Regions from separate parts of the Homo sapiens genome. Here region 1 is linked to region 2. Evidence: promoter capture Hi-C in 16 types of primary human blood cells and fetal thymus (Javierre and others, 2016). All regions are on one chromosome and are shown on one strand. Each heading gives the region's core, a stretch centred on a gene start or on the middle of the fragment in contact. The rest is flanking DNA. Distances are from core to core; before and after follow the strand shown. Region 1 has its middle 35 kb from the start of TRIL. Region 2 holds the start of CHN2-AS1 (CHN2 antisense RNA 1).

The links. Contacts are between HindIII fragments. The CHiCAGO score rates a contact against its expected background, and 5 or more counts as called.
Region 1: a contact is called between a fragment that was not itself captured here and the fragment with the promoter of CHN2-AS1 in region 2, in 6 of 17 cell types (M2 macrophages, M0 macrophages, M1 macrophages and 3 more). The highest score is 8.4, in M2 macrophages.

The regions. Positions count from the first base shown.
Region 1 is chr7:28,920,687-28,925,706 of GRCh38, reverse strand. No RefSeq gene overlaps it. Among named protein-coding and RNA genes, the nearest start is that of TRIL, 35 kb to the left of the region's middle. The HindIII fragment of the contact is 1,025 bases long and covers 3,120-4,144 here.
Region 2 is chr7:29,207,435-29,212,843 of GRCh38, reverse strand. CHN2-AS1 (CHN2 antisense RNA 1) reads left to right here and starts at 3,874. Exons shown (of 3, transcript NR_120522.1): 1 at 3,874-4,031. All of the region lies in intron 1 of CHN2 (chimerin 2), which reads right to left. It also overlaps the pseudogene NANOGP4. The HindIII fragment of the contact is 4,492 bases long and covers 3,501-5,409 here.

The DNA of each region.
Region 1 (5,020 bases), core at 2,383-4,882, 290 kb after region 2:
CCTGAACCCGAATCCTCGGGTGATCAATACTACCTAAAAACAAAGGTGATGTCTATGGAGGGGCGCAAAACAAGGTTTCCCATAGGAGGACTTGCCAGTCTGATCAGTATAACTAGTGAACCCAGATAGTGTGGGTCCAGGAAGTTGGTATGACGCCAAGCTCCCCACCCTCAGAGGGCTCTGGTGTTCCCCGCTGAGGACTCGCATCCCGTTTATAGCTCTGTAGATGTAAGCAGCCAAGATGATTTGGGGGAATTTCTGTGTGACAAAGGAGACAAGAGGCTGTGGAAACCTTCCGTAACAAGTGGTTGAATTGTTTAAGGGATTTTCAAAACCCTCTAACTGGAGAAGCAGGATGAAGGCGAAAGAATACATGACTGATCATTGCTGGCTAACGTAATCAGGTGATTTGTGTTAACAATATGCCACAAAATCCCAGGAACAAAGTCTAGGTCCTGTCTTTAGCCATGTCGTGTCCACGGCAATGTGGACCTTTTATCTGATTATTGGATGGTCCACTGAAGCCATCTTTAGGAATTTAGAACCTTCATAAGAGAAGACGAGATTCAGTCTATGTGGAAGGGTGTTTTTTTTTTTTTAAAGAGGCGCTTGTAATGGTGGTGACTTTCCTTCCTTAACATTAAATGAATTACTAACTCTACATATAATCTTGTGCATTTCTGTCCTTCTTCCCTTCCTTCTTCCCTTCCTTCTTCCTCCCCTCCCTCTCCTTTTGCAGGAAAACTATATTTCAGGACTATGCCCAGCAATGATGGCTTCAAGATCACAATAAATTGTTTAGCTTTTTAGGGGATGAGAGGCAAAATGTTTAAGCACTGGAAAAAGGCACAGGCAGGGGAGATCCTGATTTTGTGAAGCCCAAAGCTCATATGATTTCTTTTAAAAAGAATATACAATTACAAATACAAAATTAGGCAGGAAAGTGAACATTTCTTTAGAATGAAAAATGATATCACAAAAAATTATTGGAGACTTGTAAGTTTAGATCCTTTTTCTCATGAAGATCTCTTTAGGCAATTTACCAAAAATGGCTGATTAGAAATGCTTTCTGATTGCAACCCAGCTTCCTCTCTTCTGGAAAACTCGATGACTCCTCACAGAACTCACAGAGGCCTGTGAGGAAGAAGGGCCTCAGGCTTCAGCTTCACTCGCTTCTCAGGAGTTTGCGTCTGGTCTCAGGTGCCACCTATTTAGAGTGGCCAGCAGCTGATAGTGGTTTATAAACATACAGGTAGGTCCTGGCCATCATAGCGTCAGGGTCCGGGAAGCAAGCAGGGCGGCTCATGGACGAGGAGAGCAGTTTGGGTGTGCAAGACAAGGTCTGGATTCAAGTCCTGCTCAGTACTTACCAGGTGGGTAAACTTGAGGTACTTTACTTCCTTCTTGGAACCTCTTTTTTTTTTTTAATCTTTTCTGTAGAACAAAGGTAATTAAAAGAGATCGGGTTGGGTGCGGTGGCTTACTCCTGTAATCCCAGCACTTTGGGAGGCCAAGGCAGGGGGGATCACTTGAGTCCAGGAGCTCAAGACTAGCCTGGGCAACATGGTGAGACCCTGTATCTACAAAAAAAAACAAAAACCAAAAACCAAAAAACAAAACAAAAAACCCACAAAAATTAGCCGGTAGTCCCAGCTACTAGGGAGACTGACATGGGAGGATTGCTTGAGCCTGGGAGGTAGAGGTTGCAGTGAGCCAAAACCGTGCCACTGCACTCTAGCCTGGGCAACAGAGCAAGAACCTATCTCAATAAATAAATAAATAAGAAATCACGTATATAAAGCACACAGCAAAGCATAGGATAAACACGCAATAAGCCTTTATCTGAGAGTGAAATGTATTTTAAAGTTTGATACTGAAAGTTATGTGTGTGTCTCTTTGCATTTGTCTCATCCCTTCCCTTCCCTTCACTGTTGACTACAAGAGACATTGGAAATCATTGAAAAATCCATTCCCTAGTTAATGTTCCCCGGCTTGCCTTTTATACTATCTGTCGGATCCAATCCATCATGTATGTAATCATATTTTACATTGGCTGCTCTATGAATAAGAAATGAGTGGAGGGTGTTTTGTTTTCTACCTCTTCCCTATCATGAGGGACTAGGTACAGGATGCAGATTTCAGCTCTACAGCTGAAGGGCGCAGATAGTAAATCATTTTACATGCCTAGGATGGAAGACAAGCTCCTTGGGGATTCTGTGATGGTGGTGGAAGAGGGGCCTTCTTCCTGATCAGCACTTTGGGTGCCAGCCTGCTCTGGTCAATGGGAAAGAATGGAAACCTTAGAATTCAACCATATCTGCCTGGGCCTGGGGTGGGATGAACTAAAAAACCAGAGCCTCAAGGTGGCTTGGGTAAAGTGCCTACTGGAATTTACACTTTCTCACAAGCATCAGAGAGATGTTAGGACACAAAAAACTCTTTTGTGCTGCAGAAGATTTTGCAATCTTTGGGTGCCAGGAAAGGTTTCAGTTTCCTTAGCTGTAAAATAGAGATCAAAGCCCCCTTGCTTGCTTCACTGGATCATGTGGAGAACAAAATATAAGCATGAAAGTGAAAACACCTCGCACATCTAGGGAGAGCTTGCAGTATTGCTATGAAAAGTGGTAGCATAAATTAACAGCATGAAGCATTTATGTATCATTTCTCCAACAACCCACTTTTCAGCAATGATTTCCTCACATTTGCATTTTGGTGCTGTTTTGTTGTTTAGATACGAATTAATGCTAAATGTTAAACTCTACTGGGTTCTCTCATTCAAATTGGAGTAACACAGGGAAGGCAATTCTTGTATTCATGGTCTTCTGTTTTCAGGGGGCCGTGGTCTCCTGCAAAGTGCTAAAGCCTCTCTCAAGTATGATGAAACAGCGCCACCGTGTGGTCTCGAGGCTTACCATCATTCACTCATTTGCCTTTGGATTTTTACGGAGCATTGGTCAATAAACATCAGAATATGTGTAAATGCATATTGAAATAATGGAAATTGAGGTAAATTTGGTGGAATCCTCCCATAGCTGTATTTGTGAGCACTTATTAGAGAAAGTATCCATTCATCATTGGCATGGACATGCTTGAATAAGGTTTGTGAGTGACAACAAGCTTAATATTGTCCAAAAGTCTATCTTGGCGATGGTGGTAACTAAAAAATGCATTTTTCCAGAATATCTCCCTCCATTCTCTGATGAAAGAGTCTATATAATGTGTGTATTTCATGAAATGCATTTTATTGTATGCGGAGGGGGAGAGAGAGGTATATAAGGCAACATATATTTAACAGAAAATAAGAATGAAAAATTGTAAAAGTCTTCTTGGCTAGGGCCACTCATTTATCCTGAAGTTAATCAAGCAACCAAGACCAAAGCACTTTGGGGAGCGGCGTGGTAACTATGCATTGGACTGTTACTAAATAGATGAGCCTTTGCCAGGAAATATTTGTTAGGGATAATAGCACAGCAAGGAATGGTTCTCTTCTTTTTAAAATGGCTTATGAATGACAATAACAATAATAACTTACTGTGTTTATTTAGCCAGGCACTGTCTGAAGCACTTTGCCTGCATTGTTCCGTATATTAATTGGAGAGGAGTTCAGTAATGGCCATTTTAAAAATATAATCTAATTTTAAAAAATGCTAGCCAATGTAAGCAGACACACATTCGAGATAAGAGCTAAGCCAGTGTCATTGGCGCTAGACTCAATAGCTCTGAATGCGCTGGGTGGTTGATTCCCTCTGGTGGCCATTCTGGGAATTTACAGATGTAATGCAAATGTCACACAGTACTATAATAATCACAAGCACTGGGATACATATTGGTGAATGCAGTCCTGTCCAGGGAACATGAAGCCACTGGGATGTGACTGTTAGAGTATGACCATCTTTGTTCTTATTACGTTCCTGCTGTAGATGAAAGAGAGAGTAAGTGAATGATCCACTGATGTGCTAGGATTCAATATGGAATGTGGACAGGAGCATACAAAATGATGGGCGTTAATAAGGGGCTAACATGCCACTCTCTGTTTTCCCCTTCAGCTCTGAAATCAAATGGGAGAAAACATTGAAAATGTTAAATAACCGAATGGGTAAGTAAATTGTGTTGTATCCACTGGATCCATTTGAAATAGAAAGCTTCTTTTTATAATATACATTACATCAATGCTCAAGCATTTGTATGTATCTATACATAGAAAAGATCTAGAAGGATAGTTACCAAGTTGCTAACAATCGTAACCTCTGGGGATTAAGGTGAGGACAGGGCAAGAGGATGAAGACTTTTGTCTTTTACTTTATCATTCATTTATTAACACAAACTTGTATTTCTTTTATAATGAAACAATCAAAGTAAACAAATTATAAGAACCAAATATATGCCCCTCTGAAATGTAACATGCCCTGAAAATGTGATAAGTGGGTTAGGGAAATGTTGTAATTCATCTTACGTTTTAGAACTTCACAATATATAGCTTTAAATATTAGCAATCATAGAGCCCCTCTAAAACAGAGTACTCTAAAAGTTTTAGTAGAATTTGTATTAATTCCCTGATATTTTTCTTGCTTTTGAACTTATGAAATGGAGGAGCTTACTTGACCACAGATCTAAAATATTTTCGTTACTTGCTGAGGAGTGTGTGAGCCACCAGTTAAGGCAAGAAATTTGGAATTCTGCTTCCAAGTTCCAATTTAGCTATTCCTTTATTTGTTGATCTTATTTAAAAAAATGTCTTTTCCTGCAAAGCCAATCCAAAAAGGCACATAGTGTTTTGTACACCACAATTATTAAAAATCACTCTGATTCCATGTATGTATATTAGAACTTTGAATCAAAACATTTAAGGTGGTTTTGGAAATCTATATCTAATGTTTAAAATAACATGATATAAAATAGACATTGGTTTTGGGGTGCGGGATAAGGAAAAGGGAGGAAAGGAAAGTGTAGGGACATGAAATGGGGCCAGACGTGAGATGAGTCCACAACATACACTAATGAAAATGAAGTTCTGCAAAAC
Region 2 (5,409 bases), core at 2,625-5,124:
GGTAGGAAGAGTAGTGGCTGGGGTAGGTAGGTGCTGAGGCCTTCCGAGTCACACCATTGCTATTCTTCGGCCAGTTGTTTTTCTGCCACCTCTTAGATTTCATTCTCTGGTTCTAGAACCAGGTCTTCACCTGTTTGTAGCTGAGGTTCCAGATATTGGAGAGTTCTTGCATCTGCTGGAGGCTAAGGTATTTCTGTCTCTGAAATCTATCATTGAGTACACACAGCTGGGTGGAAGAAAACACAGTTCTGGTCTTCTGTTTCTTGACTGGGACCTCGTCTCCCTTTTTTGGGGCATTATTCTCTGCAGCAATGGGTTGTTTGCCTTTGGGACTGGTGGAAGAATCAGGGCTGTCCTGAATAAGCAGATCCATGGAGGAAGAAGAGGAGAGACAGTCTCCGTGTGAGGCATCTCAGCAGAAGACATTTGCAAGGATGGATAGTTTTCTTCAGGCCCACAAATCACAGCCATAGGTTAAGATTCTTTACAGTCGGATGCTTCGAAGCAAGGCAAGCTTTGCAGACAAGCCAGATCCACACTCATGTTAGTATTGAGGAAGAGGGGGAAAAAATTTAAGAGGTGGACTGGAAAAAAGGTTAAGGCAGCTTTAAGACTTTTCTGGAAGATGTTAGAGAAATATGACTTCCAGAAGCAAAAGTATCAAGAAGTTGGGATGAAGTGAGTTGCCTCCACAATAGCAGGAGGTAACTAGCTCAGTCCAGCCCAGCATTCTTTTTTTAAAAAAGAGTCCCTATCTTTTAGAGATACCATCTGAAATATTTACAGATGAAATGATGCCAAGCCTGGGATTTGCTTCAAAATAATCCTGGGTATGGGATGGAGTGGAAGTGAAACCAGGCTATGATGCGATCATTGTTGAAGTTGGATGGTAAGAGGTTCGTTATAGTTTTCTCTTTACTCTAAATATATTTGAAATGTTCTTTATAAAAAGTTATTAAAATATACATTTGTAATAAAAGCCCACTGTAGGGAAAGACGAAACTTTTAAATGATCATTCAATAAAATAGTGCTACGCAGTGTAGCAAGTTAAAAAAATTAACAAAATCTCCTTGAACATTATGATTAAATAGTACTATGGGCCTATAGGGTGTTCTGTATACCGCAACCATGCCTTGAGCAGGCTAACTGAATCTGCTACATCTTTGGAGTTCTGGACCAATTTCTAATCTGTTTTCCAAAGTGCCCATCACCACTCTAGAGTGGATTCTGAAATCAACTTGTGGGCCCTGATAGTTTTTAGATAAATGAAGAGAAATACAATAGAAAAGACAGTCTCAGAGCACATCATATATAACAGGATGAACTCTCTTTGTGGAACTTCTGTTTCTGTGTGTGTGTGTGTGTGTGTGTGTGTGTGTGTGTGTGTGTGTGCCAACATGCAGCATTTGTGTTTAGTCTAATCTCAACATAATAGCCAGAATGGATCTGTTAAAACCTCAGTCAGGGCCGGGCGCGGTGGCTCACGCCTGTAATCCCAGCACTTTGGGAGGCTGAGGCAGGCGGATCACGAGGTCAGGAGATCGAGACCATCCCGGCTAACATGGTGAAACCCCATCTCTACTAAAAAAAAAAAAATACAAAAAATTAGCTGGGCATGGTGGCAGGCGCCTTTAGTCCCAGCTCCTCAGGAGGCTGAGGCAGGAGAATGGCGTGAACCCGGGAGGCGGAGCTTGCAGTGAGCCGAGATCGCGCCACTGCACTCCAGCCTGGGCGATAGAGCGAGACTCCGTCTCAACAACAACAACAACAACAAAAAAAAAAACAAAACACCTAAGTCAGATCATGCCACTGTCTTCTAGAACCCTCCAGGGACAACCTATCTCAGTGTAAAAGCCAAAGTCCTTAGGGCGGCCTACGAGGCCCTCCATGATCCGCCTCCTCCTCCCTGCCAGTCCTATTTACCCCTTTCTCACTCTACTGGCCTTGTTTCTGTTCCTGGAACACACCAGGTACACTCTCGCATTGGGACTCTGCAGCTGCGGTTCCTTCTGTCTGGAATGTACTTTCTCCAAATATCTGCATGGCTGGCTCCCTCACCATCAAGTGTCACCTTCTCAGTAAAGCCTTCTCTGACCACTAAACTTAACACTCAGACCCCCTTACCCCCAGCATTTCCTGTCTCCCTTCCTGCTTTATTTTTCTCCATAGAACTTATCACCCTCTAATATACCATATAAATTAATAATTAGATATAATTATATATATAAGATACACATTTATATATACAAATTATATATAGTTCCTTTGGTTTATTGTCTGTCTGTATTTAGAAATTCCACAAGGTCCAGAATTTTTGTCTGTTTTGTTCATTGCAGTATCTCTAAAATCTGGAACATGGTAAATAATAAGTACATATGGAATGAAGTATTGGTGTGTGCACGGTGTGTGTGTGGGGTGTGTGTGTGTGCCTGTGTGTGTACGTGCTGGGTTTCATAGTGTAGGTCACATTCCAAAAGGCTTGTATGATACCGCCTTGGAGCATACTTGGACTACCTCTGGGCTTACTAAGAGTGAAGACTGAAAAGCAATTACGGTACAGACACCCAACAGTCCTCATGTCTTACAGGCTGGGTGCCTGGAACAAATGATGCCACTGGTAATTGCTATTTGAAATATGTGTATATGTGAGTGTAACTGATTTACACACAAGAGGGTTGTTCCCTTGGGGGACCACCAAGGCACCATAAATTGGCAAGAGGAAACAGGCAGATCAGAAAAATCATAAAATTTTAAGACCCTCAGAGATGATCTGGGCCAAACTAATAATTCTACACATAAGCATCAAAGTCACAAAATGATAACATAATTTGCCCCTGGACACACAAAAAGTAAATGCTGAGAAAGAACTACCATAGACTTAGGTCACGTGACCCCTCATCCAGTGATCTTTACGCACCCTGGCCCATCACAAAACTGAAAAACAGGAATCTGCTCTCCAAAACCCTCTGCCTGTTCCCTTTTCCTTGGGAATAACCTGAAATTATTTCTCCAATTAGGCACCAATACATTTATTCCACTGGACTTGACCGTTTGTAGGAATCTCTGTTTTAAAAACAAAGAACTGCTAATGATCACTATTTCTCATAAATGAAAGCCTTAAAAATTCCCTCCCATAGCAAGCGGCAGTGGGCTGAATCATCTACTATTATTCCCTGCCTTTCTAATAATATAGTTCCAACTTACATCAGGCGCAGGGATGTTAAAGCCTGTCAAGAATCAAAACCTTCAACCCTCACTGTCCTACTTCTCATTAGAGCTAAAGACTCTATCCAGTTTTAAATTAATGGATTTATATTTTTTTCATAACCATAAAACAAAGTGCTTCAAACCATAAAGCACTAACAAGTGAAAACAACATATGAGTTGTCAGTCATCTTAATGTAGTAGGTTAGCAGAACATTTTTTTCAGGGAGTGATATTATTACTAAGTGAATAGTTGCACTAATTGCTTGGCTCTCAACTAAGACTATAATAAGCTTTTTGACTATGAGAGGCCATGCGTCTTGGAATTCTCAGTGTTTTGTTGGTGGCCTTAGAGACTCTAAGGGCTGAGGACATTCATGACATAATTGTGGCGGATGTTCTTGGTTCCCTCTTCCCCCTTAACAGAACCCTGTTCCGTTCAGGCCTCCTCACCCCTTCAGGAGAGGCTGGACCATCTGCACTCCAGGAAGGGGGTCACAACTGGACTAAGTACATCCAGGGAATCCTATTCCCTTGCCAGTGATTGGTTCACACCTAAGCATATGACAAAGCTGTAGCCAATGAGGCAAGGGGAACTTTGCTGGGGGGTGGGGGTGGGGCAGGTGTGTCTGAGAAAGTCTTTTTTATCTTCCACAGGGTGAGGAGGAAGAGATTTCCCCTTCTCTGTTTCAGATATGATCCCAGGGGACTGCTATTGTCATCTTGACCCTGTAAAGACAGTGAGGCTGAGGACAAGGCCCCCCGACCAAGAGGGCAGCGCTAAGAGAAGGAGACAGAGCCAGATACTGCAGTGTCTACAACCACGGTACCTCAGCACTTTGTTTTAGAGTTTTCTGTATTTGCGGTGAAACGTCCTAATCCTTACAATAATTGCATCCTGGAATGGTCTGGTCAGGATGTGAGGAGGTGTGAATGTGTTATATGTGTTGGTGTTAGCATGAGAAAAGTTTGAGTGAACAGCAGGTCCCAGGAACAGTGAGTCTTTTGTTAGAGATGGCTTAGCCCGTGACATTAGAAAGCAGGAGGAGCAAAGTCTAAAATCTGATATGTCAGGGGAACCGCAGAGGCCAGCGCAAGGCACAATATCATCCCCACGTGTGCTGCTGTCATAGGGTGCCCAGGGTGGCCAGATTTCACCTGAGGGAAGACACAGAACAACAGAGTCACTGTAGCCCGTGCCCACTTCCTCTAGGGGTTGCCAGGAAAACACTCTGAATGAGACCTTAAGGAAGAAGTTCTAGTACTTGCTTTGTCTTCACACTCCCGTGAAGGGGCATTTATTTGTATTTTGTGGGGGTGCCTGTCTCAGGTGTCCTATGGGAAAAAGGAGGAAAGGCCATGAACAACTTGAAGGGGAGCCAGCCATCCTATACATTCACGCAGGCCATTGGATACTGAAGCCTGCCCAAAAAGTGGCTACCCAGGGACTCAGTTCCCCAAAGACGTCTGTCTTTAGCTTCATTAATTCCATGACAGGGCCAATCTTCCTCCAATTAACAGAAAGTTTATCTACCTAGAGGAGTCTCTATACTTGGGAGGAAGAAGAGGACTTTTGCAACAACCTGGCACTCAAAACCAGCAAGTATTAAAAAATGTTCATTGACTAGGTTCCTTACAGTGAACAATACATGGTTCTAGAAAATTTACTATTTATAATCACTCATATTTTCCATGTGATCTGATCAAATGCATTTTTTCTTTACTTGTGTGGGGTAAAAGTAAATACTGTCAGAACCTCTGTGACAGCTACAAGCGTGTAAAATTTAAGTCTTTCTAACAAAGTCTTTGTAGTACAATACCGTGATCTGTTGTGATCAAAGGGTGTCGGTTCTTTGATTAGAAACAACAAAAGAGCCAGCAGATGATATCCTTGGAAACGTCTGTACAAGCATCCATCTAAGTGGGGGCATATGGAGGCAGCCACAGACACATCACTGTGCGAATAATACTCAGGAGCATCAGGCACACAGTAGAGAAACTTGCTTCCTGGATGACTCACACTCTACTTCGAGGCCATAGAGTTGTGGCCAGAGTTTAAAAAGCTGGATAAAAAGCTAATTAACTAGTCATAAGAAATGCACTAATTGCTTTGTCCAGCATTAGCAGAGGGGACCTACTGCTCTCCCTCATTCTTCAGTGAGAAGGAGGGTGCCATGGCCTTTTGGGGATACTGGGGAAGGGAG